6 separate regions of the Homo sapiens genome follow, and all the other regions are linked to region 4. Evidence: promoter capture Hi-C in 16 types of primary human blood cells and fetal thymus (Javierre and others, 2016). All regions are on one chromosome and are shown on one strand. The core of a region is centred on a gene start or on the middle of the fragment in contact, and the rest is flanking DNA. Distances in the headings are between cores, read along the strand shown.

Region 1 (3,841 bases), core at 366-2,865, 420 kb before region 4:
TCAGTGGTTTTGAAGACTCTTTTCCCTTCCTCCGTGCTGACTGGAGGAGGGGCCTTAAGACATGACTCCTTATCTTCTCCAAGCAGAAGAAGAAGAGAAGACGGATTGACCGGACCATGATTGGGGAACCAATGAATTTTGTTCACCTGACTCACATTGGCTCAGGGGAGATGGGGGCCGGAGATGGACTTGCCATGGTAACAAGGAAATGGGGAGAGGTTGATACAGGGGTGAGGTCTATAACCGTTCCCTCTTTTTGAAAGTTCAAGCTAGGGACATATGAAAATACTCAATGGGGAAGTAAAAACCTGGGATTCTAGTCCTGGTCACCAGTTGTGGAAACCCGAGACCTGGCATTTTAGGTGTCTGGGCCTAGGTTCTCTCATCTTTACAACTTAGCAGATTGTTCTTCACTGGGGTAGGGGGTATATATATCTTAATAGTTGGAGGGCTTTTTCCAAAAACTTATAACTCTCCCTTCTCCTAATTAAGAACTGCTATCTCAGTGCCACAGTAAATCATATATTTAGGAGTGTTGGGACAGGAAAAAAGCTGAGTACCTTCATCCTAAATAATGTCTAAGATGCACTTCTGTTCCCAAAATAAGGGAAATGGGTCTAGAGATAGTCTTTTCTCAGATCCTGAAACTCAGATATATAGGGGAGAATCCATTGTGAGGGAATATTATTAGTAAAAGACCCATTTTACCTCATCCTCATGAAGGCCAGTGTGAAAAGAGGCATTGAGACTCCCCTAGGAGGAATGGTGGTTAGCAGATGGCTGCTATTGTCAAGGAGATGGCGTCAGCCTCTTCCCTGGAAGGCACAAAGTAGAGTTCTTACTGTAGGATATGAAGACTTACGAAGGTGTCTCGCATCTGTTTTTTTACAGACAGGTGCAGTTCAGGAGCAGATGAGATCCAAGGGAAACCGAGATAGGCCATGGAGCAATTCTAGGGGCTTATAGCTCCAATAATGGAATGGTGAGTGATTAGAGAAACCCATCTAACACCTCAGCCCCCATAACAGCACAACCTGATACCCTGACTCAGAACCCTGATCTTATGCAAGAAAGGGAGGTGTGGCCGGGCATGGTGGCTTATGCCTGTAATCCCAGCACTTTAGGAGGCCGAGATGGGTGGATCACTTGAGGCCAGGAGTTCAAGACCAGCCTGGCCAACGAGGCAAAACCCTGTCTCTACCAAAAAATACAAAAATTAGCCGGGCACAGTGGCGTGCTCCTGTAGTCCCATCTACCTGGGAGGCTGAGGCATGAGAATCACTTGAACCTGGGAGGCGGAGGTTACAGTGAGCTGAGATCGCGCCACTGCACTCCAGCCTGTGTGATAGAGCAAGACTCTATCTCAAAATATAAAAAAAGAATGGGAGATAGGGAGGAATTAGAAGGGAAGATTCAAGAATGTAGGATCTAGGCCGGGCATGGTGGCTAACGCCTATAATCCCAGCACTTTGGGAGGCCGAGGTCAGCAGATGACTTGAGGTCAGGAGTTTGAGACCAGCCTGGCCAACATGGTGAACCCCTGTCTCTACTAAAAGTACAAAAATTAGCCAGGCATGATGGCACACGCCTGTAATCCCAGTTACTCAGGCGGCTGAGGCCGAAGAATCACTTGAACTCGGGAGGTGGAGGTTGCAGTGAGTCTAGATTGCGCCACTGCACTCCAGCCTGGGCAACAGAGTGAGATTCCATCTCAAAAAAAAAAAGAATGTAGGATATAGAAAGACTGAGAGGGTGTTGTGCAGACAGAAGTAAAGAACACACTGTGGAAATAGCTTAAAGTCTGCACTAGGTAGTGCCTTCTTCCTAAAGCCTTGGTTTTCTTTGAGGCTAATCTTCTTTAAGAAAAACTTTTTTTTTATTTCAGGTTCTGCCATCTTGAAACCCCCATTCTGTTTCCAGCCCAGAAGAAATGCTGCCCCTACCAGATCCCTCCTTGAACCAGTGATCTAAGGACCCCTCTTTTCCCTATCTGCCTAACAGTGCCTCACAAGGCTTGGGGGCTGGACTCCCTCTACTCCCTCTGGCCATAGCCCCTCCTGGAGATGGGGTCAAGGCAGCAGGACTGATCAAGTGACTACTGGTTAGCCAGAGGAGCTCAGCTGAAGCCCTGGAAACCCTCAGGTCTGAGATAGGAGTTCTCTAGGAACCTGGAATGAGTTCCTGTCTCCTGAATGATGGTCTGGGTGCCACCTGTTTTTAAACTCTTAAACCTGGAACTCCTTAAATGGGGTAGGTGGGTGAGATTATCAAAGCTGAAGCTGGCTTTGCTGAGAAGCTCCCTACCTCCCTGCCCTTCTCCTCCTTCCTGCTGGAATGAACTAAAGCAGATGTCAAGCAGGGGCTGGTGGGGGTGCCTACTCCCTTTTCCACTCTATCTTTAGATTTCAAACCTTAGGCTTACAGCCCCTCAATATCTCTCTGCTAACACCAGTGTCTCTTTCTAGTTAGGCCTCTAATCTTCTGTTTCTGTTTACCAGCTTCCCAGCAACTTTCCTTTTTTAAAATATTAAAAATTTAATTCAGGTTCTCTTAATTATCCTCATCCTGCTGTTGCCTCCGCCCTTAACTCTATCCCTATTAGGAACCTTGTTTCCCACCGAATAAGAGTTAAGGTAAGAGGTAGCTCTTCACCTGATGACATTCCATTTAAGTTTTGGGGCATCTTTCCTGCCCTCTGCCAACCTCCCTGCTGGCCCAGGTGAGAGGAGGAAGAGGGGTCTGGAAAGAAACCCAGAATGCGGCAGAACTAGGAGTAAGTCCATCTCAAGGTGGACTTCTGATCATTGAGGATGGTGAGATAAATAGGTTGAAAACAATCATCTGTGAGTTTAGGAGTCTTAAGATCCTCACAGCACGGGAGCAGGGAGAGGCTCTAGAACAAGGTTTCACAACCGAGATGCCTTTGACATTTTGGGCTGAAGTGTTCTTTGTAAGGAAAACCTGTTTCCTATTTTGTGCATTACAGGATATTTAGCAGCAACCCTGGCCCACTCTAGTTATGACAACCAAAAATGTCTCTATACATTGCCAGATTTCTCCTAGGGGGCAAAATCGCCTCCATTTGAGAACCACAACTCTAAAGTCAAGATATTTTTCTCTGAAGTGATTTCTGCTTGGCACGCTACCCTCATCATCTTACTCATCTTAAGCCCGAGCCATGGATCAACTAGGAGCCCATATAAATGAGGCTCAGTAGGGCTGCACATAATCTCCAAACAATTCTTTATTCAGTGTTTTGCTTGTGTTTGCATGTTGCTATGATGGACAGGTCCCCCTCCTCCATTCTTGCCCTCTGGAGAAGTGGTTCCTGCAGTGTAGAGATATGAACAGGGTATGGTAGGATTGGGGAAAGGGGAGAGAGAAGCAGTAGATACACTCCTTATCCTCCCCAAATTTTAAGCTCTATTTCTGTGCCCTAGTCCTAGACACACATTAGACTCAGGGAGTTTTGTCTGAAGACCAGGTCCCACTGCCCCCTGGCTGAAGAGTCTGCTTTAAATGGGAAAACAACGTAGGAGCAGGGGTTTTTAGGCACTTTCAGTATTCTCAGGTGTTCTTCGTTCTGGCCCTTCCAGGGTAATTAGGAAGGCAGAACAAGACAGATGAGCTCCTGCCTGCTCTGAGACAAGAAGGGTGGGGTCTCATTAGCTTTGCAACAGGAAACATCCTGTTTTATGGTAGTGGGGTCAGGAATGTAGGAACTGGTATCCATTCTGCCAATTCCACCACCCATTCAGTTTGCTTATCCCTACAGAACAGTGACTGAGGTTCTTTTTTTTTTTTTTTTTTTTTTTTTTTCAAATTTCCATGTATTTTCTGC
Region 2 (3,834 bases), core at 135-2,634, 350 kb before region 4:
CTGGGGGGCAGGTCAGACAGGCTGCAGGCTGATTTCAAGGCTGATAGGGAAAAACCTGTTGGGGCACATACCAGCAGGGCACCCCAGCCTGCACCCCAGAGGGGGTCCCAGCCCAGAAACTCCCTTGACTGCTGCCTTACTAGAGCCAGCTGACCTAGGTGGAGAGTGCCCAGGGATTGTGTATATCTGTGGAGAAGGAAGGGCACAAGTATTTGGGAGTGGAAGTTGATGAACAGAGTCAAGAGAGAAAAATGCAAAGGGTGTTACCTTCAGAGGGAAGCTCTATGCTCCCAAAAGGCAACAGGGAGATGGGGGAGGCTCCCTTGCCTGGTTTCTTAGATTGCTTCTGTTGCCTTTTGGCAGCCTGGGCCCTGTGGCTGTTTTAGCTGCAGGTGATGCAACCCCAGCAGCTGGACTTGAGGCTGTCTCTGCACAGAGCAGCAGGTGAACAGCCCTGTGGAGCCCCCGCCCCGCCATGCAGCAACTGCTCCAGCCTCACAGCTGGCTCCCTCAGGTCTAAACACAGCCTCTTTCCTGCCTCCCTGGAGAGCCTGGGTAGGGGCGGGGCACAGAAGCTACAGCCCTGCCTCCACTCACTCCTCTGCCTCTCTCCCAACTCAGGAAGGCCTTCACTGGCATTCCTACATCCCTGGAGGAGGGACCTGCAGTGGCTCCACCACACTGAGTAGACCATGCCGGAGGACACGCCATGAAAGGATATTTCTGTGGCGGTAATCACTGCTCCTCACTTTTCTCTCCTGTTAAAAGGAAAACATGCACCTGTGTCAGAACTGGAGAATGAGGGTTCAATATCCAGCTCTGCCACCTATGTTCTGTAAGCTTCGCTAGTCCTTTCAGCTCTCTAAATGGGAGGATTGAGAGAGACGGAGGCTGTGGGACATGCTGGGGCCTCCGAGGACAGGTTTCCTGGGATGATTAAATGAAGTAATGTGTCCACTAAAGAACTTATCCATGTAACCAAACACCACCTTGTCCCCAAAAACTATTGAACTCATAAAAATAAATAAATAAATAAATAAATAAATAAGGTAATGTGGCCAGGCACGGTGGCTCATGCCTGTAATCCCAGCACTTTGTGAGGCCGAGGCGGGTGGATCATGAGGCAGGAGATCGAGACCAGCCTTGGCTTACACAGTGAAACCCCGTCTCTACTAAAAATACAAAAAATTAGCCGGGCATGGCGGCGCATGCCTGTAATCCCAGCTACTCGGGAGGCTGAGGCAGGAGAATCACTTGAACCTGGGAGGCAGAGGTTGCAGTGAGCTGAGATGGCGCCACTGCACTCCACAGCCTGGGCGACAGAGTGAGACTCCGTCTCAAAAAAAAAAAAAAAAAAAAAAAGTAATCTGTGTAATTGCATGTGGCAGAGAAAAGTGCCCTGTAAAGTAGGGGTATTAGATTAAATAAATAAATATACAGGACATGCAGCTTAATCAGAATTTCACGTAAATGAGGAATCATTTGTTGGTACAAGTATGACCCAAATATTTCATTAAATATACTAACATTTTTTTTTTTGAGGCGGAGTCTCTCTCTGTTGCCCAGGCTGGAGTGCAGTGGCATTATGTTGGCTCACTGCAAGCTCCACCTCCCGGGTTCAAGCGATTCTCCTGCCTCCGCCTCCCGAGTAGCTGGGATTATAGGCGCCTGCCATCATGCCTGGCTAATTTTTTGTATTCTTAGTAGAGATAGGGTTTCACCATGTTGGCCAGGCTGGTCTCGAACTCCTGACCTCGTGATCCACCTGCCTTGGACTCCCAAAGTGCTGGGATTACAGGCGTGAGCCACCGCCTGTAATTATTATTTTTTGTTTATCTGAAATTATAGTTTAACAGTGTGTCCTGTATTTCACCTGACAACCCCAAAATGGAACTCAGTCTCAGCGTGGTGGCTAAAAGCAAAGCTTCTGGAGCCAGACTTCTCAGAGTCGGGATTCTGGTCTTCTGTGTGACCTTGGGCAACTATTCTGTGCTCAGTTTCCTCATCATCAACAGACAAGTAATAGTGTTTATGTTATAGGTTGTTGTGAGAATTAAATAACTACAGTGCATATAAAGCACTTAGAAGAGTTCTGGGCACAGCGCTGTTAAGTAGAAATGTCACAATGTTATCAAATATATAACGATAAGTATTGTTATATGGTAACTGTTACTGTTGTTATTACTTACCTCCTTAAGAATTCCGATCTTGGCTCGCTTCTGAAACTTTTCTGGCCAATCCCCAAAATGGCCACAAGAGGGCGTCAGCAGCCACTGAGAGTCTCGAGCCCCCTAGTGGCCCCTTGAGGTCTCTGGCTCCAGCCCCACATATTAAGGGGCTGTCTCAGCCCACTTGGGAAGTGCAGCCTCCTGAGGACGCCAGGTTCCTGGGTGGAATTGGTATGCAGGTAGCATCAGGGGAAGAGCCTCAGGTAGATACCTACTCAGGGGAGCCCCCGAGGCTGACCTCAGACACATGCAGGAGACTGGGTGACCGCAGTTAGGCTGGGTAAACACGGTACTGCAGCTCCGCAGCCGGGGTCCCCCTGGCCCTCGGCTTTCTGTACCCTTCAGAGTTTCTTCTGGCTACCTGCCCAGCAGATTTAGGGAGAACCGAAGGAAGCGTGAGGCCTCCTGTTTCCTCACGCCGAATCTCTCCAAGGGGCTCCTGGCCGGCATGCCAGGCTGAACTCTGAATTTGGAGAAGTCCAACAGAGTCTCAGTCACATGGCAGAAGCGAAGTCCTTGCCTGTGAGGAGTGTGTGTGTGATGCGTTCACAATCGCTGCATTGAAACCTGCTACAAACTCATTCCTCTCCCTAGGTTTTGTTTTGTTCAACTTCAGGGCCGGATTGCAGTTGTTTACAGTTGTACTGATCACCTTCCTTCCCCATGTTGTACATTTTAGAATTGCAGAGTTGGAGGAAATCTTAGAGAGGATCTAATCTACCACCTTTTCTTTTCTTTTTTTTGAGACAGAGTCTCACTCTGTTGCCCAGGTTAGAGTGCAATGGCGCGATCTCGGCTCATTGCAACCTCCGACTCCCTGGTTCAAGCAATTCTCCTGCCTCAACCTCCTGAGTAGCTGGGATTACAGGCATGCACCACCATGCCCAGCTAATTTTTGTATTTTTAGTAGAGACAGTGTTTCACCATGTTGGCCAGGCTGGTCTTGAACTCCTGACCTTGTGATCCGCCCACCTCGGCCTCCCAAAGTGTTGGGATTACAGGCATGAGCCACTGCGCCCAGCCTCTAATCTACTACCTTTTCATTACTGACTCAAGGAGTCTGAGTGACTTCCCGAGGCCATGGAGTTGGAACTAGCATCCATGTTTCTCAGCTGCCTCTCAGTGTTTTCTTCATCCCTCAATGCAGGCGAGGCAGATTTGGGCTCCCTCTCAGTGGAATACAGGGGAAAGGCAGCCACATACACCGCCTCCACTGTTCATGCATGTCCACCTCTTCAGCCTCCAAGTCCCACATTGCTTTTATTTATTTATTTATTGAGACCGAGTCTTACTCTGTCACCCAGGCTGGAGTGCAGTGGTGTGATCTCAGCTCACTGTAACCTCTGCCTCCCAGGTTCAAGTGATTCTCCTTCCTCAGCCTCCCGAGTAGCTGGGATTACAGGGCCCACCACCACACCCAGCTAATTTTTGTATTTTTAGTAGAGACAGGGTTTCACCATGTTGGCCAGGCTGGTCCCAAACTCTTGACCTCAGGTTATCCGCCCACCTCGGCCTCCCAAAGTGCTGGAATTATAGGCATGAATCACTGCACCCAGCCTTTTATTTATTTTTGAGATGGAGTCTCACTCTGTTGCCAGGCTGGAGG
Region 3 (3,811 bases), core at 443-2,942, 280 kb before region 4:
CAAATGTCCATCAACTTATAAATGGATAAGCAAAGTGTGGTATGTCTACACAATAGACTATTATTGGCCATAAAAAGGAAGTACATACTACTTGGATGAAACTTAAAGCATTAAGCTGAGTGAAAGAAACAAGTCACAAACGCCCCCAGCATATTATATAATTCCATTCACATGTAAGTCTAGAATAGAGAAATCTATAGAGACAGATTAGTGGTTGCTTAGAGCTGGAGGTGGGGGATGAGGGGGTGAAAGTTAAATGATACAGGTTTTCTTTTGGAGGTGATAAAAATGTTCTACAACTGTGGTAATGGTAAAACATTTCTGTGAATGTGCTAAAAACCATTCAATTGTACATTTGAAATGGTTGAATTGTATGTGAATTATATCTTAATAAAGCTGGTTTTTGTAAAACCTTAGTTCAGTTTTAAATTCCTAATCTTATAGAGGATTTAGAGTTCTATTAGCTCTTCTCCCTTTTCAGGCTTCTTCTTCTGCATTGTACAGGATCAGGAAGAAAGGAAGGGGAAAATGTGAAGTGTTTCTCTATTTAATGAATCAGCTGTGGCCAACTGTGAGTAGGTGACCTGGTCTTACTCTGGTTAGATCTGGTGGTTTCAGAGTGAAGGATGTTTGTAGTTTTTTGAGTAGCGTTTCTCTTCATTCTGGACTTTTCTGTCATTGAAGACCCCTTCAAATGGTGCTGCTTATCCTCTATTCTCCCAACCTAAACTCACGTTGGATATCACATGGCTTGGTACAGTGGTCTCCTGGCACCTCCCACTGCTCCTGCTCCTTCGGAGACACCTGAAGTCCTTCAAGGGGAGTGGCCAGACTGTGATGGGTTGGGGGGATTGGCCACATTTTCTTCCTAGGCATACTCTGCCAAGGTACCTATAAACCCTGCCAGCACAGATTATTCCAGTGGGCCTTCCACTTTCAGATCTCTGTAGCCAAGAAATTGACATGATTTTTTATGTTTGCACAGGTTAAAAACTCACACCATGCTTTACTCCAACCTGACCAGAGTGGTTTGGCAGGTTCTACAGTTTAAAGCATCTATCTAGGGAATGAAATGCTGTTAGTCTCTCCTTGCTGGTGTCACCAATTGTACCAATGTCTCTCTTGGCATGCCCTCATCTTTGGCTTTGGGAGGAAGGGGAAGTACTTTTATCTTTGCTTCTCATCACAAATTTTGTACATCCCATAATGCCGATAATGAGAATTCCCAGTTGCCCTCCCAGTTCATTCTTTTTGTTGTTGTTGTTGTTGTTTTTGAGGTAGGGTCTCACTCTGTCACCCAGGCTGGAGTGCAGTGGCATGGTCATAGCTCAATGCAGCCTCAACCTCCTGGGCTCAAGTGATCCTCCTGCCTCAGCCTCCTGGATAGCTGTGACTACAGGTGCCCACCACCATACTTGGCTGATTTTTAAATTTTTTGTAGAGACGAGGCCTTACTATGATGCCCAGGCTGGTTTCAAACTCCTGGGCTCAAGCAACCCTCTGCCCACCTCAGCTTCCCAAAGTGCTGGGATTATAGGCATGAGCCACCACACCCGGCCCCAGTTCATCCTTCTTTTTTTTTTGAGATGGAGTCTCGCTCTGTCGCCCAGCCTGGAGTGCAGTGGTGTGATCTCAGCTCACTGCAAGCTCCGCCTCCCGGGTTCACGCCATTCTCCTGCCTCAGCCTCCCGAGCAGCTGGGACTACAGGTGCCTGCCACCACACCCGGCTAATTTTTTGTATTTTTAGTAAAGATGGGGTTTCACCGTGTTAGCCAGGATGGTCTCGATATCCTGACCTCGTGATCTGCCCGTCTCGGCCTCCCAAAGTGCTGGGATTACAGGCGTGAGCCACTGCGCCCGGCCTTATTCTTTATATATACTGTGGTGGGACAAGGGGTGGGAGTTGGTGGATATACGATTGACTACGCCATCTTCTCATGAGATTTGGAAGAGGTTCTGGCTCTAATTGTTGCAGCTTTCTTTAGATTATAAGTAGTATTGTGCCTTCAATAAGACTTGACCACAATTCTGGGGCAACAGGGTAAGTTGCACTCATATCTTTTACACTGGGTTTTCATGCCACCCCCTGGACTCCTCCCAGATGTGCAGATGGAATGGGCAGATAAGGCCGGGTGCCACGGCTCATGCCTATAATCCCAGCACTTTGGGAGGCCGAGGTTGGGGGGGATCACCTGAGGTCAGGAGTCCGAGACCAGCCTGGCCAACATGGTGAAACCTCATCTCTACTAAAAATACAAAAACTAGCTGGGCATGGTGGTGTGTGCCTGTAGTCCCAGCTACTTGGGAGGCTGATGCAGGAGAATGACTTGAATCCGGGAGGTAGAAGTTGCAGTGAGCCAAAATTACACCCTTGCACTCCAGCCTGGGTAACAGAATGAAACTCGGCCTAAAAAAAAAAAAAAAAAAAGAATTGGCAGATTCTGCAAGTTCCTTATGAAGGGTGATTTGTGTGTGTGTGTGTGTGTGTGTGTGTGTGTGTGTGTGTGTGGTTTTCTTTTTGATTATCTTGTCTTATGATCACACATAATTTTAAAATTTGTGTGTATCTCCTCTACTTTAATCCTTTTAAGTTGGCAAAAGCATCATTCCCAATCACAAATACATAGCAGTTCTACAGTTTTATGTTTCTGAATGGCTGTTTAAAGACTATCCTAAATTATAACTTAGTTTGACAAGCATTCAAGAGTGAAGTTTAACTTGCTACTATTTTAAAAGCATGTGACCTTATAGATCATTTATAAAATGTGAGAAATGCTAAATAATCTTTGATATTACACATAAAACACACTAAAATGTCTTTCAATAAGTAAAAGGAACCATTTTAAATACAGGGAATTCTAATTAGATTGGCATAGTTAAGGCCAAAAATATAAAGTAGACATTACTACCTTATTTATCTTCAACCCTTGCCTTTATGGACACAAAACACAGGTGAATCTTGCTTGGTTCTGAGACAGTGAAGGAATTTCTCCAGTATTCAAATATATTCACATAACCAGTTATATAAATCTAAATATAAAACCAATCTCCAGTAAGTTTGAAGATGGTACTCACCATCTTTGTGAAAAGTTTAACATTACTAACAAAGTCTAATCATATCTTTAGAAGGGGTAAACAGTGATAGCATTTACTGAATTGGAATTACTATTAAAATTCAAAAACTGAACATATTCATTTAACCACAAGCCAGTCTTAGTTTTAAATCAGGACTGTCCGACAAAATATTCTGTCAGTCATTCATGATCTGAATTCTGGTGTATAAGCTCTGTTAAAGTATGGTACACATGAAAAATTCATGAGACATTTGTTTTGTAATAAATAAGGCAGTGGCCAATTATTACTCATTAGTAGCTTTTTTGAGATAAGCTGTCAAGTCGGCCTTTTCTGCCTTCTTTTTAATGCCGGCAAAGATCATTTTTGTTCCAGGGATGTACTTCTTGGGATTTTCCAAATACTCCATCAGCGTATCCTCTCCCCAGATGATGCCTTTGTTCTTATTGGCATCTGTGTAAGAGAATCCAACAGCCTGACCTGTCTTCTGACTGAAGAGACCATGGAGATTAGGCCCAGTCTTGTGCTTGCCTCCCTTTTCCACGGTGTGACACTGGGCACACTTCTGAACAAAAATCTTCTTGCCTTTCTCAACATCACCCATATTTAATTCTCTTTTTCATCACTGGTGCAACGTAGGTTACCACTCTGAAGCCGGACATCCCACTCTCTCCATAAAGGCAATTTTTTTTTTTTTTTGAGACGGAGTTTCACACTGTCGCTCAGGCTGGAGGGCAA
Region 4 (3,666 bases), core at 1,154-3,653:
TTTTTTTCCTACATTCTCCTTTGTGATCCCATCAACTTCCACAACTTTACTTACATTTATGTGAAAAAGTCCAAAATTTGTACATCTTCAGCGTCTACTTTTCTCCCAAACTCCCACACTTACATTTCCTAGAACCCTTAAATTTCAGATATGGAGATCTTAGAGGTCATTTATCCTAAGTCTTCATTGCCTGGATGTCTCCACCAAATGGTTCATTCGCTTTTAATAAAGTCCATGTTTTCAGGCCGGGCACGGTGGTTCACGCCCGTAATCCCAGCATTTGGGAGGCCGAGGCAGGCAGGTCACCTGAGTTCAGGAGTTTGAGACCAGCCTGGCCAACATGGCGAAACCCTGTCTCTACTAAAAATACAAAAATCAGCCGGGCATGGTGGCGCACACCTGTAGTCGGGAGGCTGAGGCAGGAGAATCACTTTAACCCGCGAGGCAGAGGTTGTAGGGAACTGAGATTGTGCTACTGCACTACAGCCTGGGTGACAGAGCGAGACTCCGTCTCAAAAAAAAAAAAAAAAAAAAAAAAAAGTCCATGTTTTCAAAACTGAATGCCTTATTTTCTCTCTGCTTTTCAGCTCCATTCCCAAATTGACTCCTCTTCTTGAATTTATTGTTTCTATAAATAATCACCTTGAGGCACACAGTCTTCTCATTCTCTATTCAGTCAGCTGCTAGTCTAGTGGATTCCATTGTCACAGACTCTCTTGGTTAGGTTCACTATTTTCTATTCTTAACTACTACGTTTCTAGGTTAAATCCTAATTATCTCCCACCTAACGTTTGCAGAGGACTCGGCTAGACTGTTCATCTCTGGTAGTTTTCTGCTTGGAATTCTGAGTCTTTTTATTCATTACCACCAAATTATCTCCATAAAGAGCACTTCTTATCTGCCACTCTTTTTTTTTTTTTTTTTTTGAGACGGACTCTCACTGTCACCCAGGCTGGAGTTCAGTGGCGAGATGCGATCTCGGTTCACTGCAACCTCCGCCTCCCAGGTAAAAGCGATTCTCCTGCCTCAGGCTCCTGAGTAGCTGGGACTACAGGTGCACGCCACCACGCCTGGCTAATTTTTGTATTTTTAGTAGAGACGGGGTTTCTCCATGTTGACCAGGATGGTTTCTATCGCCTGACATCATGATCCACCCTCATCGGCCTCCCAAGGTGCTGGGATTACATGCGTGGGCCACCGTGCCCAGCCTTGTTTTGTATTTCTAGTAGAGACAGGGTTTCACCATGTTGGCCAGGCTGGTTTCGAACTCCTGACCTCAAGTGATTCGCCCGCCTACGCCTCCCAGAGTGCTGGCATTACAGGCGTGAGTCACCGCGCCCAGCCAGGCCTGTAAGCTTTCTAAGGGCAGAGACTGCCTTACTATACACGTACCCCCCCCAACTAACACAGTACCATCCACATACAGACAGACGCCCAGGAAATGTTAAACTGTAATTCTGGATAGGTTAACTAGTATTAACCGTATTTACCAAATGTTTACCACATACTTACACTGTCCTCCTTGTTTCAAGGAGCGTAGTCCCCAAGGGATCACCCTGATGGAATATAAAAACTACACATAAGAGTGAAACTACGGAACGTAAGCCATTAGTGTTTTGCAAGACAGCTCGGGTTGAGACTCAGTCTCTCTCTTCCACAGGCCAAGTGACACATCGTAATACCATTGGTACCGTTTTATTTTATTTTTCGCGACAAAGTCTCGTCCTGTCACCCAGGCTGGAGTGCAGTGGCGCGATTTCGGCTCACTGCAACCTCCGCCTGCAGGGTTCAAGCGATTCTCCTGCCTCAGCCTCCCAAGTAATTGGGATTACAAACGCCCGCCACCACGCCCGGCTAATATTTGTATTTTTAGTAGAGACGGGGTTTCACCATGTTGGTCAGGCTGGTCTCGAACTCCTAACCTCAGGTGATCCGCCCACCTCGGCCTCCCAAAGTGCTAGGATTACAGGCGTGAGGCACCGCGCCCGGCCTGTTAGTACTACTTTAAAATCGAATCTGACCTCCAAATCATTTTCTGGAGCTCGATCATTTTCTGCTAACACCGCAAAGCTTAATCCTCTCCACCTGAGAATAAAAGGTTCCATCCTTCCGCTCTCCAGTTTGACGCCCTGCTAAGTCTCTCGGACGCGGTGGGCTGGAGTGAAGGAAGCCGGAGCCCACCAAAGCTGCAAAAGTACCACAGCCAGCAGCCCCGCCCCCGATATCCCCCACAGGCTTCCAATTGGTCCTTGTGGCTCACTCTCTTTCCAGGTTGGTGTTCCAGCTTGCCGGTCGCCTCTATAGAGCCCACCTTTAGACGGCGACTATTGGTAGATCGTTACGTCATTGCCCTATCTACCTCACTCCCACTGGCTCTCATAGGAAGGGGCGGTCGCAACGTCACGGGCAAGGGCCGCCATTTTGACTGAGCAACCCTAGTGACAGGAGCCGAAGCAGCAGCGCAGGTTGTCCCCGTTTCCCCTCCCCCTTCCCTTCTCCGGTTGCCTTCCCGGGCCCCTTACACTCCACAGTCCCGGTCCCGCCATGTCCCAGAAACAAGAAGAAGAGAACCCTGCGGAGGAGACCGGCGAGGAGAAGCAGGTGAAGTGGAAGGGGTGCGGGCGGGCGAGCTGGGGAGACCGTGATGGGGCGGGAGACGGTCTCCCACCAGTGCGGATTGGTCGCCATGGTCTCAGGCTCCGCAGGGGTTGGCCACTTTTTGCGTCACGCTGGGTGAGCTTCAACACGACATGCTGCTTTGGCGCTGGTTAGTTGGGTCGTTTGTCACTCAGTACTGTACTCTTCCTGATTGGCCAATAGGCCTACCGCTCAAACCTTGGACGCTGTGCTATAATTGGCCGAGCATGGACGTGGGGCGGGTGGTTGGAAAGACGGTGAATGGAAAGGGGATGGCTGGTGGTCTTGGGTGTGATGTGTGTTATTGGTTTGTAGAGGTAAGTGACCCAGCAACCGGGCTGGGGCCCGCAGCCTCAATCCGCAAAGATAGGGGTCGAGGTAAAGACGTTTAAAAAAAAACCAGTATTGGGGGAGGGGAGAAGTGTAGTTATTATAATGGCTAGTTTAAGGCGGCAACTTTCTCAAGAGACCTATTTTAGTAGCTAAGGATGGTCTATTGCTCACCTTCAGTGAGGACCCAGCAATATTGAAGAGGGCTAGAGTTCCAAACAGAATCATGGTAATTAAACTTGGAAAAGACGCCGACAGGGTCGTGAGAAAGACACTTCTCTCTTCCCCTAGACTTCCAAGGCAGGGACTTAGTGCACCTGCGATTCCGTGATGGAAACACTAACGCCAAATAAACCCCTTATTGGGGTTTGTATTTGACTTTTAAAATTTAGTACTGGGTTCAGGTACTCATTAAATACACTTGGTGTTATATCTATGCGTAATTTCCAAGAGAAAGGAATATAATTCCACTAAAAAGAGTCATACGTTGACTTCATATCTTTTCAAAAAGTCACTAAAGGGCAGCAGGGACCACAAAAAAAAAAAAAAGAGATTGACTACAGTAGTGAGAGTCCCTGCACCACCAGGGTAGGTATTGATTTTTTTGATGAAAACTGGTGGGTAAATACTAGTGAGCCTACTGTATCTTTGTTTTCCTGAGGTTAAAAACAGTATCATTTTCCTCTCTGTTTATCAGCT
Region 5 (3,721 bases), core at 358-2,857, 370 kb before region 4:
CAAAACTTTTCAGATTGTTCTCCCTATTTCTCCAGCTTGAGCAAATGAGATAAGATGTTCCTAAAAACAAAGAAAAAAAAAAAAGAGGAAGATCTGTCCTACCCCTGTATCTCCTACTCCCTAGCAAATGCACATGCCTTGCAAGATTTCACATTCATTCCCTTGTGCCAGTTGCAAGCCTTTTTTCCTACCCCACCCTACTACTGGAGCTCCCCCTTGCCTTTCCATGGGTTCTTCCTTCAGTGCTCTTTGGAGGAAAGCACACACGTGATCACCCCTTCTGCCTCCAGGTGAAGCTCCCCCCGCAGAAGGAAGTGATCACATCGGATGAGCTCATGGCCCATCTTGGTGAGTGACTGGGCGTTGAAGAGGAATTACCCAAGGGGCTCCAGAGCTATCCACTCAGCCAGAAATCCAGACTATTCAGGGATCTCCATTTGGGGGTTCTGATACAGCAGGGAGGGTAAGGGTCTATGGGGCTTCTCTGCAAGGCTGGAGAATGAAAAGCAAAGGCGTCGGGAGTCCTGGGTTGTAACACCAATTCTGCCCTTAGCTTTTGTATCTGACCCTGGGTGGGCCGTTCACCTTTATGAGGCTGTCGCCTCCTCTGAGAAATGAAGAGTCTGGATTAGACTCTAAGTATTTTCCAGCTCTGAAAATCTGTGTTCTGTGACATTACCCGCATTCTCCAGGAGAAGAGGAAACTTAGCTTTTGGGATGATTGGTGGGGTAAGCTGATAAGGGGCCCTGTCTTGTAGGAAACTGCCTCCTGTCCATCAAGCCCCAGGAGAAGTCAGAGGGACTTCAGCTTAATTTTCAGCAGGTGAGGCAAAAGGTCTGCAGGCATAGGGGTTTGCAGGTTTGTAAGGGGACATCTTGTAATACTAAGATAAGCTTTTGTTGCTTCTTCAGAGGTTTCCTTGAACCATGATTTCATTCTGCAGGAGTCAGAGGAGAGTTTATCTTTGTCCTAGAAAATATGTTCATTGGCCGGGTGCTCACACCTGTAATCCCAGCACTTTGAGATGCCAAAGCGGGAGGATCACTTGAGGCCAGGAGTTCGAGGCCAGCCTGGGCAACATAATAATACCCCTGTCTCTAAAAAAAACCATTTTTTTTTTCAAGAATTAGCCAGGTATGGCGGTGCGTGCCTGTAGTCCCAGCTACTCAGGAGGCTGAGGTGGGAGGGTCACTTGAAACCAAGAGTTTGAGGCTGCAGTGAGCTAGGATCACACCACTGCACTCCAGCCTGGATGAAAGAATTAGACTTAGACTCTCAAAGAAAAACAATGTTCATTTATATAAGATAGAGAAGGGTTGAGGCAAGGGAGAAATGGAGTGGCTTGTAAGAGAATCAGGGAAGAAGAGCAGCAAGGTTAATTTTTAATTTCTGCAGGTGGGAGTGGAGTGGTGGGAGAGAAGGCTAGAATCTCCATCATTTTTTTTTCTACCCCCAGAATGTGGATGATGCAATGACAGTGCTGCCTAAACTGGCCACAGGTCTGGATGTCAATGTGCGATTCACAGGCGTCTCTGATTTTGAGTATACACCCGAGTGCAGTGTCTTTGACCTGCTAGGCATACCTCTGTACCATGGCTGGCTTGTTGATCCACAGGTGAGGGTGGGAGGGCCCACTGGGACCTTATCCAGCTCAAGCTGACATGAGAGAGGCAAATTTTTGTCGGGTAGAGGTTAGGGAGTTAGGGGTTAGATTGGCTTGGGAGGGAAATAGTGTTTAGAGACTGGACCCAGTACAGAATTCCTTGAATTTTAATCTATTTTGGGGGTAACATGCAAATACAAGCAAACTACATGCAAATAGGTCAGTTCTTTAGACATCAAAAATTCAGGAAGCAGATGGGTTTGGTGGCACATGCCTGTATTCCCAGCTACTTGGGAGGAGTTCGAGGCCAGTCTGGGCAACATAGCAACCCTATGATGAATGGTTCCTGAAATTTTTTTCTTTTTTGAGAGACCAAAAAAAAAAAGTGTTTAGGAACCATTCATCACAGGGTTGTAGTCCTTGTGAGCTTTGTTCATTTCCTTCCTTAAAAAAGAAAAAAAAATCCCAATTTTTTTGGTATCCCACATCCCACTACCCAAGCAGAGTCCTGAGGCTGTGCGTGCAGTTGGGAAACTGAGTTACAACCAGCTGGTGGAGAGGATCATCACCTGCAAACACTCCAGTGACACCAACCTCGTGACAGAAGGTGACATTCCTCCCCTTCTCATGGATAGTATGTGGAGGGAATGACAGCTACTTAGGCTTATTTTTTATTGGGTGTCATCTCCTACCACATCCCACTAGATATAAGCTTCACAAGAAGGAGCTTGGGGAATTTCTGTTTAGTTCATTGAGGTATCCCCAGTGCCTGGCACAAGGTAGCTGCTCTATTATAAGTATTTGTTAAGTGAATGAATACAGCCAGGTTTCAAGAAAGGGACGTCAGAAGGTGGGACTGACCCCCCGGGGCTTTTGACAGGGGCTCTCTGGATGGTCCTTCCTGTTGTGGACCTTGAATTTAAGCCAAGTTTCCCCCGACTCGTCCCTTTCTGGCAGGCCTGATTGCAGAGCAGTTCCTGGAGACCACCGCGGCCCAGCTGACCTACCACGGACTGTGTGAGCTGACAGCAGCTGCTAAGGAGGGTGAACTTAGCGTCTTTTTCCGAAACAACCACTTTAGCACCATGACTAAGCATAAGGTAATGCGAGTTTGGGGGTGGCGTGCTGCGGTGCTGTCATTTCCTGGTGCCTTTTTCTCGTGGGTCCAGCTGGGATCAGCTAGATTAAGCCGTGGTAGCAAGTGACCCCTCAAATCCCTGTGGTTTACCACAACAAAGGTTCATTTCCCGCTCCTGGTGCGTGTCCACTGTGGACTGGCTACGGTTCTGTCCCACACCATCTTCACTCTGGGACCCAGCTGACAAAAGATCCTTTATCTGGAATATATGTGGGAACAGAGAGAGAGAGGGGCACTGTGCACTCATGCTTAGAGCTTCTGTTTGGAAATGACACATGTCATTTCTGCTCACATCTTCTGGCCAGAGCAAGCCATAAGGGATAAGCCTGCCGTCGATGGGACAGGAAAGTATGATCCTCCCCTAGGAGGGGGCAGTGGAATTTTTAAACAATGCTGGTCTTCAAAAGTTAGAAACTGCCAAAGCTCTCTAGGATTTGAGCAGCAGAGGGAGGGGTCTCTGGTTCTCAAAGGATTTATCCTAAGAGCCATCAGGCAAGCCCAGAGAACAATGGGAAATGGGGGGAGCAGGGTCTTATGTGGCATCTCAGCCCCAACGACTCCATGCCACGCTTAGCCAGAATGACCACCGTGCTCACACCCAACTGGACATACACTCAGACATCCCTTTCTTCCCCCCAAGGCCACACATATTTGTAAAAGGTCCGCATGCTCAGGGTCCGGGTGCGGTGGCTCATGCCTGTAATCCCAGCACTTTGGGAGGCCGAGGCGGGCAGATCATGAGGTCAGGAGATCGAGGCCATCCTGGCTAACACGGTGAAACCCCGTCTCTACTAAAAAAATACCAAACATTAGCCAGGCATGGTGGCGGGTGCCTGTAGTCCCAGCTACTTGGGAGGCTGAGGCAGGAGAATGGTGTGAACCTGGGAGGCAGAGCTTGCGGTGAGCAGAGATTGTGCCACTGCACTCCAGCCTGGATGACAGAGCGAGACTCCATCTCCAAGAAAAAAAAAGTCCACAT
Region 6 (4,231 bases), core at 1,140-3,639, 330 kb before region 4:
CTTACCCTACCTCTGCCAAAAAGTGGGGGCTGTACTGGGGACTGCTCGGATGATCTTTCTTAGTGCTACTTCTTTCAGCTGTCCCTGTAGCGACAGGTCTAAGATCTGACTGCCTCCTCCTTTCTCTGGCCTCTTCCCCCTTCCCTCTTCTCTTCAGCTAGGCTAGCTGGTTTGGAGTAGAATGGCAACTAATTCTAATTTTTATTTATTAAATATTTGGGGTTTTGGTTTTAAAGCCAGAATTACGGCTAGCACCTAGCATTTCAGCAGAGGGACCATTTTAGACCAAAATGTACTGTTAATGGGTTTTTTTTAAAAATTAAAAGATTAAATAAAAAATATTAAATAAAACATGGCAATAAGTGTCAGACTATTAGGAATTGAGAAGGGGGATCAACTAAATAAACGAAGAGAGTCTTTCTTATGCCTTCCTTGCAGTTATGTAATATTTTCTTTTTTAAATTTCACATGCATGTAATTTGAGCACTTTGAGGGGCCAAGGAGGGTGGATCACTAGAGGTCAGGAGTTTGAGACCAGCCTGGCCAACATGGCGAAACCCCATCTCTACTAAAAATACATCTAGCTGGGTGTGGTGGCGGGCGACTGTAATCTCAGCTACTTAGGAGGCTGAGGCAGGAGAATCACCTGAACCCGGGAGGCGGAGGCTGCAGTGAGTCGAGATTGCACCATTGCACTCCAGCCTGGGTGACAGAGCGAGAACTCCATCTAAAAAAATTCACATGCAAGAAGCAAAGGTAGACAAGGTAGAAGATGAATGACAGCAGCCCACAGGGGAGGATGGGGATAATACCTCACTGAAAGATCCAGAATTGGGAGTATCGGGCTGAGAGAGAGAAACAAAACCACAATCTTAGTTTTATCATATTGTTAAAAGACTTTCAAGAAATAATACAAACTGGAGATAGTAGATACACAGGCTCCATTCTAAGAACAAAGTCTGTTAGAAGCAGGAACACTTGGACAAATATGGGATGGGAGGGATGTCAGGCCGAGGTTAGAGTGGTGATCTCTCCCCACCCTTTAGGGCCTTTGGAGGTGGAGAAGGGATCCTGCCTGCTAGCACCACATTGGAAGGGATCATCTGGTCCAGAACCCCCATTTCTATCAACTAGGAGCTGGGGGGAGTAGCTAGCCCAGAGACTTCGGGTCAGGGTTCAACAATCAGGAAGACCCAGTTCCTGAGGAAACGACAGTTCAAGAAGGGTTGGGAAGAAGGCTGTCCTCTAAAGAAGACGTCCTCTGCATTCAATGGCCCCACAGCAACAGAGTAGCTCCTTGCCTTCCACACTGCCCACCTCGTAGTTGTAGTCCCAAGTAAGTTCTGTCCCAGCCCGGATTCTTCTGAAGAGGAAGAAAAGGATGGTGTGTGGCAAAGACAGCAGATAACCCAGGCACTTGGGGTTACTGAATATGTAGGTGGAGTTGGATCATGAATGGAGGAGGGGCCCTTAGAACTTCAGTGGTCCTTGCCCCTCCCCAGTCATCCCCTTTCCTGACTCCTTACTTGCTGGCAAAGAAGGCCACCCAGGGGAAGCGAAGATCATGGGTATCCACGAAGACATTCTGGACAAACAGGTTGGGGCTGCAACTGTGCTGTAGGTTTAAGGACAGGATCAAATAAGAACCAGGGAAACTGAACCTGGCTTTGCAGGGAGAGTGAGAGTTGGAAGAAAAATGATGCCATCTGACCCTCCCCATTATAATAGATGCTTTGAAAGAAAGCTACCTCTTTAAGATCCTTTGAGATCAAGAGTTTATAACAAGAAAAGGGCTTATAGAGTATGTTAAAAGAAATCTGAGGACCATGGGATAATCCAGCATCTAGAGGTGGGGAGAGGGGTCTCACGTTGAGGTAGCGGCCCAGGTTGCCTTCAAGCTTGGCATCAATGATGTAGCAAGACTCCTCGCCATCATAGAATTGGCGTGTGTTCTTACGAACAGGTGCGCTCTCCCCCTTGTCCACAGAGGCCATGTTGGTTGATTTAATTGCAATCCCATGGGTTGATTTAAGAGCAAAGCCTCGGGTTGATTTTACTGCCACTTGACGCTTCATTGGACCTGGACAGGAGGGAGAATGGGGTCAGGACCCATCCCAACTCATGAACAGACATTCTATCATGAATGGACATTCTACCCCTATTTCTCTCCCAACATTGCAGCTGAGAAACACCAATAAGCTGGAACTCAAAGATCCTAAGTAGCAGGTTTTTTTTTCAAGCATAATTAGATCTGCTAGACAAAGGAGCTGAGGGGAAAGAGTAAAAAAATGGAAATGAGAGAGGATGTGTCAAACAATAGTTTAGCTTGGAGTCAGAAAGCCCTCCCAGAGATGCTCCAATTCTTAGGATCTGAATTTTTACCCACTACTTCTTTAGCTTCCTTAAAAAATGCTCTATCCCAAGTTTCTTACTATTTCTTCCCACCATTCCCAAAATTTTTCCAGGCTACCAGTCATGTTCTTCTTGTCCTCAAAGTCATCCCCTTCAGAGCCAGAGGATATGGTCTGGATATCATCACTGTCAACCGCTGTAGCCGAAGTCTGACCAGCAGTGGGCTTTCGGCTGGTCCCACTTTCCCCCTCACTTTCTGTGCTGCTGGACAGTGTCAGGACATCCTGGGGAAGCAGGAGGGTAAGAAGTAAGAGAAGTAAATGGGAAGGGCTCCTTTAAGTCCTTGCTGTTACCCACGGTTTGGCAGGAAAGGGCGGTGGCAAGAGGAAGATTAGATGCTGGATGAAAGAAAATAAGGCAGGAAGTCAAGGCTAAAGAAGTAGGAGAAGACCTAACAGTAATTATAGTGAAGGACTTGATGAGGTGACAATGGCCCATTTTCCTTTATTAGACTCTGAATAAGCTTGAGGTGACTTACATCAGGGTTGGACTGAGCAGAAGCCATGAGTCTTCGGCTTTGATGCATACTAGTCTTACTAGGTGGGCGGCGAAGTCCTTCAGGCTTCACAGGAGAAGGATTGTAACCGTAATTTCGAGAGCTTTCAGTAACTCTAATGGGAGGGGAAGGAATGAAGCCAACAGGTTACTGGCTGTTTCTTAGGCTTCTAGCCTAGGTTTGAGAGAAGGCAGATTTGGAGACAGGTCAAAAAGACAGGCACTGGGCTGGACACGGTAGCTCATGGCTGTAATCCCAGCACTTTGGGAGGCTGAGGATCCCCTTTGGGAGCATCGCTTGAGCCCAGGAGTTCAAGACCAGTCTGGGAAACATGGTGAAACCCCGTGTCTACAAAAAATACAAAAACTAGCCAGGCATGGTGGTGCACACCCGTAGTCCCAGCTACTAGGGAGGCTGAGGTGGGAGAATCTCTTGAGCCTGGGAGGGGGAGGTTGCAATGAGCTGAGATTACGCCACTGCACTCCAGCCTGGGTGACAAAGCAAGACTCTGTCTCAAAACAAAACAAAACAAAAGGCACTTACACTGACATCTTGTTTCGGTCGTCAGTGTCCTGGAAAAGAACAAGTGAAGGGTTAAATGCTTTCACAGCCTCGGGTAACAAGTCCAATAATCAGACTTCAAATGACCTCCACAGATAACATCAGCCAGTGACAGGTACACATTCTAAAGTGGGGTGGGTAAACCACTCTGCAACTTGACAGAAATCCTCACTACACTCCCTGGCTGGAGCCTTTAAGCCTTCTCAGTGATGGGGCTTAATGCTCATGGAAAACACCACGAGCAGGATTACATCAACCAGGGACAGTTTCACCATCTGTAATGTGGAAAGCAGCATAATCATCAAAGAGATACTTAAAATCAATTCTTGTTTCTCTACTTTAGTAGAAGGAAACAATGATGTGAATAACTTGAAACAGCATTTAACATTAAAAAATCACTTATAAATCTTTCATTTTGTAATTAATCAGATACTTGTCCACCCTCTACCACCAGGCAAGTGGATTTTAAAATAATTTTTTTTTTTTTGAGACAGAGTCTCGTTCTGTCACCCAGGCTGGAGTGCAGTGGTGCGATCTCGGCTCACTGCACCTCCACCCTCCAGGTTCAAGCGATTCTCCTGCCTCAGCCTCCCAAGTAGCTGGAAATACAGGCATGCACCACCACGCCCGGCTAATTTTTGTATTTTTTAGTAGAGACGGGGTTTCACCATGTTGGCCAGGATGGTCTCCAACTCCTGAACTTCAAGTTATCCACCTGCCTCGGCCTCCCAAAGTGTTGGGATTACAGGTGTGAGCCACTGT

What was found. The method cuts DNA at HindIII sites, captures the fragments that hold promoters and counts their contacts. A CHiCAGO score of 5 or more calls a contact.
Region 1: a fragment that was not itself captured here is called in contact with the fragment with the promoter of ENSA in region 4 in 1 of 17 cell types (fetal thymus); the score reaches 6.7 in fetal thymus.
Region 2: a fragment that was not itself captured here is called in contact with the fragment with the promoter of ENSA in region 4 in 3 of 17 cell types (fetal thymus, erythroblasts and endothelial precursors); the score reaches 9.8 in fetal thymus.
Region 3: a contact is called between a fragment that was not itself captured here and the fragment with the promoter of ENSA in region 4, in 1 of 17 cell types (endothelial precursors). The highest score is 5.3, in endothelial precursors.
Region 5: a fragment that was not itself captured here is called in contact with the fragment with the promoter of ENSA in region 4 in 5 of 17 cell types (fetal thymus, erythroblasts, megakaryocytes and 2 more); the score reaches 8.8 in fetal thymus.
Region 6: a fragment that was not itself captured here is called in contact with the fragment with the promoter of ENSA in region 4 in 1 of 17 cell types (naive CD4 T cells); the score reaches 5.1 in naive CD4 T cells.

Annotation. Positions count from the first base shown.
Region 1 is chr1:151,051,372-151,055,212 of GRCh38, reverse strand. CDC42SE1 (CDC42 small effector 1) reads left to right here. Exons shown (of 5, transcript NM_020239.4): 3 at 87-197; 4 at 892-982; 5 at 1,886-3,841. The coding sequence ends at 966. C1orf56 (chromosome 1 open reading frame 56) reads right to left here. Exons shown (of 2, transcript NM_017860.5): 2 at 3,793-3,841. Among named protein-coding and RNA genes, the nearest start is that of C1orf56, 5.5 kb to the right of the region's middle. The HindIII fragment of the contact is 6,723 bases long and covers 1-3,841 here.
Region 2 is chr1:150,978,101-150,981,934 of GRCh38, reverse strand. It overlaps LOC105371438 (a long non-coding RNA gene), which reads left to right and starts at 430. Exons shown (of 3, transcript XR_922135.3): 1 at 430-514; 2 at 622-731; 3 at 1,849-1,977. It also overlaps a transcript of ANXA9 not described here. The HindIII fragment of the contact is 1,084 bases long and covers 843-1,926 here.
Region 3 is chr1:150,903,762-150,907,572 of GRCh38, reverse strand. All of the region lies in intron 1 of CTXND2 (cortexin domain containing 2), which reads right to left. LOC107985204 (a long non-coding RNA gene) reads left to right here. Exons shown (of 3, transcript XR_001738231.2): 2 at 482-571. It also overlaps the pseudogene CYCSP51. Among named protein-coding and RNA genes, the nearest start is that of CTXND2, 19 kb to the right of the region's middle. The HindIII fragment of the contact is 6,110 bases long and covers 1-3,811 here.
Region 4 is chr1:150,628,349-150,632,014 of GRCh38, reverse strand. ENSA (endosulfine alpha) reads left to right here and starts at 2,403. Exons shown (of 4, transcript NM_004436.4): 1 at 2,403-2,601. The coding sequence starts at 2,545. LOC112268239 (a long non-coding RNA gene) reads right to left here and starts at 2,196. Exons shown (of 2, transcript XR_007066603.1): 1 at 1,513-2,196. RefSeq lists enhancers at 739-1,708, 1,709-2,676, 2,419-2,688. The HindIII fragment of the contact is 4,295 bases long and covers 2,073-3,666 here.
Region 5 is chr1:150,998,352-151,002,072 of GRCh38, reverse strand. MINDY1 (MINDY lysine 48 deubiquitinase 1) reads left to right here. Exons shown (of 10, transcript NM_001376665.1): 3 at 291-348; 4 at 759-823; 5 at 1,458-1,616; 6 at 2,109-2,211; 7 at 2,562-2,704. Among named protein-coding and RNA genes, the nearest start is that of MINDY1, 6.7 kb to the left of the region's middle. The HindIII fragment of the contact is 1,422 bases long and covers 897-2,318 here.
Region 6 is chr1:150,961,379-150,965,609 of GRCh38, reverse strand. SETDB1 (SET domain bifurcated histone lysine methyltransferase 1) reads right to left here. Exons shown (of 22, transcript NM_001366418.1): 17 at 3,452-3,480; 18 at 2,891-3,023; 19 at 2,471-2,636; 20 at 1,869-2,080; 21 at 1,527-1,615; 22 at 873-1,363. The coding sequence ends at 1,246. CERS2 (ceramide synthase 2) reads left to right here. Exons shown (of 11, transcript NM_022075.5): 11 at 1-424. Among named protein-coding and RNA genes, the nearest start is that of CERS2, 11 kb to the left of the region's middle. RefSeq lists cis regulatory regions at 121, 757 and enhancers at 48-192, 685-829. The HindIII fragment of the contact is 977 bases long and covers 1,901-2,877 here.